Regions from separate parts of the Homo sapiens genome. Here region 2 is linked to region 1. The links are contacts of gene promoters, found by promoter capture Hi-C in blood cells and fetal thymus (Javierre and others, 2016). All regions are on one chromosome and are shown on one strand. Each heading gives the region's core, a stretch centred on a gene start or on the middle of the fragment in contact. The rest is flanking DNA. Distances are from core to core; before and after follow the strand shown. Region 1 holds the start of TBX18-AS1 (TBX18 antisense RNA 1). Region 2 has its middle 81 kb from the start of LINC02535.

Region 1 (3,560 bases), core at 10-2,509:
ATTTCAAGCTACCTACATGAAGTCACTGAACTTCATATTGAGCAAAGGATCAGAAGTGAAAGGAAAGGAATCGGAAAGGATACCTAGAAGGACATACCAACGAGATCAAAGGAAAACTAAGAGAGTGCTGTATTCTGAAAGCTAAGTTAATAAAGTGTTTCAAGGAGGGAGGGAGTGATCATATTAATGGAGAATATTAGTACTCACTAAATATCCATGTTTATTTCATTGATATGAACCTCCTTATGTTAGGTTGGTGTTGTGTGACTAGATTCTGGCTAATGGGGTGGATATCACAGTCCTTCCTGACTTTAAGTAATTAGAAGGAACCAAGGGCCAACCTACTGAAATAGAAGATTCCCCCGTGGCTAGCAAAGTTATATAAGACTCCAACAGACATTTTATGATGTCTACTGTGTCCTGGGCACAGTGCTACTCCCAAAGAATAAAACAGTGAGTAAAACAGGAATTTTGAAATGATTGTGTAGCAGTTATACTCTTGTTTCAAGTGTTTTCAAGTCACAAGACCATGTAGCTCAGTTCTATAAACAACTACTTTAACAGTGGCATATTCCCAAAGGATCATTCTTTATGGGTACCAGAGTATAGCAATACATGTATGTCCCTTCTCTTATTCCTTCTCTACATCAAGCAAACATAGCCCTAGGCACTGAAACATAGCCCCAGGCTTCTCTAGAAACTAATTTCTTCAGTGTTGAAGGCCATTGATCTCTACTGCTTTTTTGTTTTGCTATAGTGAGTCACATTGTACTTCAGTGCTGGCAGTGGTTAGGTCCTGTATCAGGTGAGATAAAAACACGAATACACTTGCACATTAATACATGAACATAAATGTACACAAAATTTCAATGGCCTCAAGTCACATAAAAATAGATTCATATTCATTAGTGTAGTGTATGAGGTCTGGAATGGACCCACCCAGAGTGTAGGCTTATCAGAATGGTGTCTGTATAGCTTACCAAATTCCACATGAGTAGAGCTAGAGGAAATCTGAGAGATCATTCAATCCAGTGTTTATCAAACATTCTTCTAGACACAATACATAGAACTATATTTTAAGACACACACATGCACACACAAAAACAGAAACACACACACACCTAACTGAAACAAAAGTCTCAGGAAAGAATATACCATGCAGAAGAGGACTCCAGTCTGCTGGCTGGGTCAGAGCCCAGCTGAGGCAGGCAGGGGATATAAGGAAGAACCAGCACCCCTTTCTCCTCAGGCACCCCTACACCCACACTAGGTCTCTCCTGATGAATTGAGGTGGACAGTGACCTCACAATGCACTTAAAGGGCAGGACAACTGACAGCATCCTATACAATGGACTGTGGAGCTGTGTCTGGGTGGCACTGTCTACAGCTTGTACCACCTTGGCTGGGTTTTCTTCTAGAAGAAGTGAGATCAAGAAGCCTGGTAGACCTGGGGAAGTTGTAAAAACATCAATGAATGCTGGCTTCTGTGAACACCAATAAAAAAAAAATGAAGCAGTGTGATATTTTCTATCCTGTCCTGTCCTAAGCTATCTTATCCTATGTTCCATCCCATCCCATCCCATCCCATCCCATCCCATCCCATTCCCTACTTTATCCCTTATCTTATCCTCTTTCCTTTCCAAGCATTGCCTGTTGCAACTGACTAAATTGACTTTATGTCCCACAAATGGCTCCAAATCACAGTGTGAAAATACTGTTTTAGACCAACCCCCTAATTTAATGGAAAGAAAAACTGAAGCTTAGCGACAACAAATAGTTTTTCAAGGTCACAGTTATTGCAGAGCTAGGACCAGAGCCTAGGTACCCTGGTCCAGAGGGTTTTGTTCTTATTGGAGGGCTATCTGCACCTCTCTTTGAATCTCTTGGAATAGGGAGATAAGGAGAAGAAGGAAACATAAATTGATGGCTATGCCCTGCCTTCTCCGTTCTGCTTATCCCTGGTCAAGGTTGCCAGAGAATTCAGGCCCTTCAGAGCCAGCTGAGATGTGCTGAATGCTAAGTGATTCCTCATCTGATTCCTTGCTCCAGAATACAGGGACTTGAAGACAGACTACATTTTTCCTGAGCGAGACAATTTGGTCTCAAGGGAAACCAAACTGTAGCACAGAATGTGAGGTGAGTTTGCCCTTGCCCTTTCATTTATCTTCCTTTAATCAAACAGACTAAACGTTTTCATTGGAAAGAGAAGATTGTTATCCTTGGCTTTCTTGTGTCTCCAGCAGTATTTTTCTTAGGAATGTGTTAATAGCTGTAAAAATTTTAACACGTCTTCAAGTGCCTCTCATGTTAGGAGATTCTTCTCAGTTGTGGGAAAAGTTGTTGTCAGATTGCCCAGTATTTAAGTGAAATCAAAATGTTTCTGACAGGTTGATTATGCTCTTTCTTCAAATGCCCTGTCTTTTCAGAGTATGCAGCCAGATGCTTCGGAGGGAGAGACATTTTTCTTGCCAATCCCGATTCCTTCAGTCCTCAATCACTCCCCAGAAAGTTAGGCTCAAAAGACGGTTAACTTCAGGAAAAGTTAAGAAAAGATTTGGGTGTTTTCAGTTTCAAGATAGTGTGGTGCTTGGCCCTTTTGTAAAGAGCTTATTTGCTCTGGTCACCAAACTTCTTTACCTTTATGTTTTGTTTAAAGAAACAAGAACATTTAAGTAACAAATATGGAGTGTGTTACGTAGAAGGCAGTTCCAGAAGAAGTTGAGAGCCAAATGTGCAAATATAGGAGGGAGATTCCTAAAAATTGCTGTTAAAGTTTTTGTTACCCCAAAATTTATTAATTATTTAATGGAAATAAAAGAGGAAAGGAGGAACATGAATTCATCTAAGATTACATATTCCTGAGTGTTACATTGAAAGAGAAAATTGGCTCTGAAAGTGGGATACCTTTGCTTTGAGAGAACAATTAAGCAAAGCCCTTCTTCCCCTGTCTGCCTTGCTGAGTTTTCTCTATGACGTTTCCTGTTCGAGTGTCCACATGCTTCCCTTCTAACACCTCCCCTTTCTTTCTTGTTCTACAGAGAGAGCAACAATAGGATGGAATGCATAAAATCCTTCCCCAGAGCAAGCTTCTCCCACTTCTTGAAAGGCTTTATTTTTATATAGCCTCTGGAAGCCAGACAAAGTATCACTTAGAAAGCGAGCCTCACAGGGCGGCTCTGGAGAGATCTGAAGGCTGCGTTCATAAGTTCAGAAAGAACAAAGTTTATGCTTTAGGCCGCTAGACCGTAAGCTCTTTGAGTTCAGTTTTTATCTTCATTGTATTTCAAGAACTGTGCAAGTATCTGGTACCTGGAATATGCTCAATAAATGTTTGAATAAAGATTAAAAACCCTGAATGGATTGATACGGATCTGAATCTTTTTTATATCTCCAGCTCTGTTCTTAATAGATGGCTTTTCCTGGAGCTGTTTAAATAGACAGCTTGGAAAGTGGATTTCATTTTCTAAGTCAGGAAGCGGGTTACACATAGAGATGGACATCAGTGTTTTCTATTTCAAGACCAAAGGTAAGTCCAAAGAAAGAAAAGCACCTCTGAATCA
Region 2 (3,457 bases), core at 641-3,140, 630 kb before region 1:
GAGAGCCGGATGAGAAGTAGGATTGGAGAATGCTGTCAAATGGTAGAATTGACAGGATTCTACCCATCTGGGACATATGTTAAACTAGATAAAAAAGCGTTATTGGTTGAGTACCTCTTTAATTTTGCTAAGAGGAAGCTGCGTGGAGCAATGCTTTCCAGCTTTATTTCTGGGGACTGACTGGGCTCAAACTGTGGCTTGGTCACTTGTAGCTGAGTGACCTCAGGAAAGTTTCGTATCCTCTTAGTGCCTCAATTTCTTCATTTGCAACATGGGGATAATATTAGTAACCACCTCATAAGATTATCATTAAGATGAAATGAGTTACTATTTGTTAAGCAGTTAGAATTTGCCTGGCATGTAGTGAGCTCTAAATAACCATTTGTTAAAATAGCAGAAATAAATAAGTAAAATAATGTTGCAGATCACCTTGCTGAGGCATTGTCCAAGAATTCTGGGATAAAATTCTAGGAATGTTTAATGTAGAGTCACTATCAAGCACAAGAAAAATGCCTGGTGTCTGTTAAGTACCAGAAGAGATATAGGTAAGTAGATACTGCCCATATAAAAGAAGGCTCTGGCATTGGGTACATGGTGCAACATGCTAAAATGATGCAAAGATGAAGCAAAGAGCTCACTGGAATCCATAACTTCCAGCAGGTGGACGAAAACCAGAAAAATGCCCACTTTGTAGAAGACTTGGCCACTCCTCTCATTTCCCAGCACAGAAATTGACAACTCGGTTTACTGGAGGAATTTGGTCAATTGCTGGGAAGGATTTATTTGTATTTATTTATTTAGTCAATTTTATAGAAATAATGTCATAAAGACATGGATGCCTATGGCAAGGGTCACATCCAGGATCTTGCCCCTCCCTGCCTGGCAGCTGTCTTTCACATGCTTATCTCTCTGCCTGGAACCCATGCCCACTCCCACCCTCAGTAACTACTATTTGCCCTTTTGCTCTCAGTGATAATGTTAGTTCCTCAGGGAAACTCCCTCCACTCCCCTAGACTATATATCCACATGACATCGTGTACCTTTCCTTCATGTCTTTTGTCCTTGTTTGTAATTAATTTTGGGGATTATTTGTCTTCTCACTTAGACAACAAGTTCCACTAAGAGCAGGTGTTGCTTTTTCTTAACACTGTTTCCTTGGTGCCTACACAGCACCAGAACAGTGTAAGTGCTTACTAAATATTTGTTGAATATAGTGAAATATTTTTTGTTGAATGTACCCCAGCCACCTAAAGGGTCTCCTGGTTTCCTGAATTCATAGAGATTCCTTTGGAAGTAAGTGGTTGAGGTGGTTGAGCTTGACAGCTGCTTTCAGATCAAGATTGAAATTCTATGCTGTGTGTGGATGGTTGTGAGAGTCTTATTGTACACTCAAGCTCTTAGTCGATTTCCAGTCCAGGTGGCACAGAATCAGGCTTATCATCTCATGTGGGTTGTGTTTGTCCTCCTGTGGCTCTTAAGGGAACATCTCAGAGATGGCCAGTGGTGCTGCTCTATTATTTGGGCGGGGCGGAGTACTAAAAAGGGTGGGAAGAATGGAACCCCCCACCCCTCATCGATTTGCCTCACACCGTTAGTAATGGGGAAAAATGCTGTCGAGGTGTCATCAGTTCTAATGTGGCTGGCTATATTAAATGCTAGAAATAATAATGGAAGAAATGTGAGACTCTCCTTGCTGCAATGTGCGTTGCTGAGGAAATGAAGAACGTCGCATTCAAAACCTCATTTCCCTTCTTAACTACAAGGGATTTCAGCATCAAAGGGATTCATACTCAGACTTCCACCTTGTAAAAGCTTAGCCTGCAAAGCCAACCAGTAGAGGGCGCTGCTACCCTTTGTAAGAATCATTTGGGGCTCACCTGAAGATAGAGACATCTGAAATGTGGACCAAAGATCATCAAGTCTGATGTTTATGACACTCCAGTTACAAACCTGAAAAGGGAAAGCTTTATGATGGTATAATTTATGTGCTTTCTTTAAAAGTTAACAAAGCTTGTTTGTTTAAGCAATCTGTTTACCATATAAAATTGTCCTGAGTCTGAGAAAAAATCACCTTTCTGAAAGAAAGGCTGACAGGAGTGCTGGAACATGAACTTAACATGATCCAAATGCATGCATCTGTTTAGGGTCATCTGAGCTATTAGGAGTCGTAGGAGCTTGGCTAAGACTTCTCAGTGAATGTAGAAACACTGAGAAGGGAGGTCAAAAGATGATTATGATCGGGGGGTGGGGCTTTTGAGAATTATTATACTAAATGTGAAAATCTGATTTTAGCTCAGGCGAGGCCTTCAGAGAAAGCATTTAGCCAGCAGGAAGTTAAAGGGTAGCATGTGTCTTTATCTGTAGGGACATAGCTGGTTTATCCAGTTCTCTGGGATACAGTCCTTGATTTGAGGGGTCTGGGGTTTTGAAAATTGGCACCACCTGAGGAGTATGACCCTGTGCATTCCCATTCTTCAGCTGGATTTTGGGCTTCTCTCAGGGTTTTGCCTCTGACTGCAGTGGATGGTCACACCAGTAACTGCAGGCTCCACTCCATACAGCTCAAGGCCTGTCTGCTTCTGTTGCTGAAACTGAAAAAGCTGATCAACAGGGCCTCAGCTCCTTACAGTGGGGTGATGGCCCTTCCCACATCTCCAGGAGGGTCTGTCTGCTGAAGGCTGGAGGGGAGCATCCAAGCTGCCTTGATTGGTACTACAGATAACCCTCCCTAAGTCTCTCTCAGGCAATGGGGGAGTGCACAAGACATTGTCTGGGAAATGGAGAAAAAGCGTTTTCCAGGAGCCAGTCTGGAGCCAGGAATGATATGAGAGTCAAGGAAAGTAGACAGTCCTCTCCAATGCTCATTGAGGATTCTTCATTCCTGACTTAGGTTTCTGGCCACACGCATTTCCTGGGAAACATCATTCTTAGTACCTGTTTCTTTAGTGCAGGGCTATTTCTAATGCTTCAAATTCTTTCATATTAATGAAGGAAAAAAGTTTACTCCTCTGCTATTTTAAGCCAACAGAGTAGGAATTCTGGTAGAGGTTGGTGCTGCAAATTTTGAGGCTTGATCAGAAGTTTGAGTTGGGGTAGCCAAATAATGATCAATTTACTATGTTAAACAAAAGGCAAATATTTTATATCAAGCATCACTTGCAGCCTCCCTAATAAAAGATCTATGAATCTTTTTTCCTTGCAAAGAATGAAACACTCCAAAACTCCTGAGTGTTTAGGAATTTGCCTTTCCTCTCACTAGCTGCTCAGCAGCTGAAGCACTGCCAATGGTTGCATGGGGAACAACAGGAGGGGCTTGGGCTGCCTGACAGCCACACCTGTGCCTTGGCTTCAATAGACTAGAACAGGCCTCAGCTGGCTTAGGGGCCAGAACTTGGCAATGCAACACATGTGAGCTGTGGGCAGATGTTGAGTATTAAAGAGTAGAGAAAAGGGGATG

Evidence for each region. Contacts are between HindIII fragments. The CHiCAGO score rates a contact against its expected background, and 5 or more counts as called.
Region 2: a contact is called between a fragment that was not itself captured here and the fragment with the promoter of TBX18-AS1 in region 1, in 2 of 17 cell types (erythroblasts and megakaryocytes). The highest score is 5.5, in erythroblasts.

What each region holds. Positions count from the first base shown.
Region 1 is chr6:84,687,157-84,690,716 of GRCh38, reverse strand. TBX18-AS1 (TBX18 antisense RNA 1) reads right to left here and starts at 1,259. Exons shown (of 3, transcript NR_125877.1): 1 at 1,156-1,259. The HindIII fragment of the contact is 6,253 bases long and covers 1-1,761 here.
Region 2 is chr6:85,321,999-85,325,455 of GRCh38, reverse strand. No RefSeq gene overlaps it. Among named protein-coding and RNA genes, the nearest start is that of LINC02535, 81 kb to the left of the region's middle. The HindIII fragment of the contact is 152 bases long and covers 1,815-1,966 here.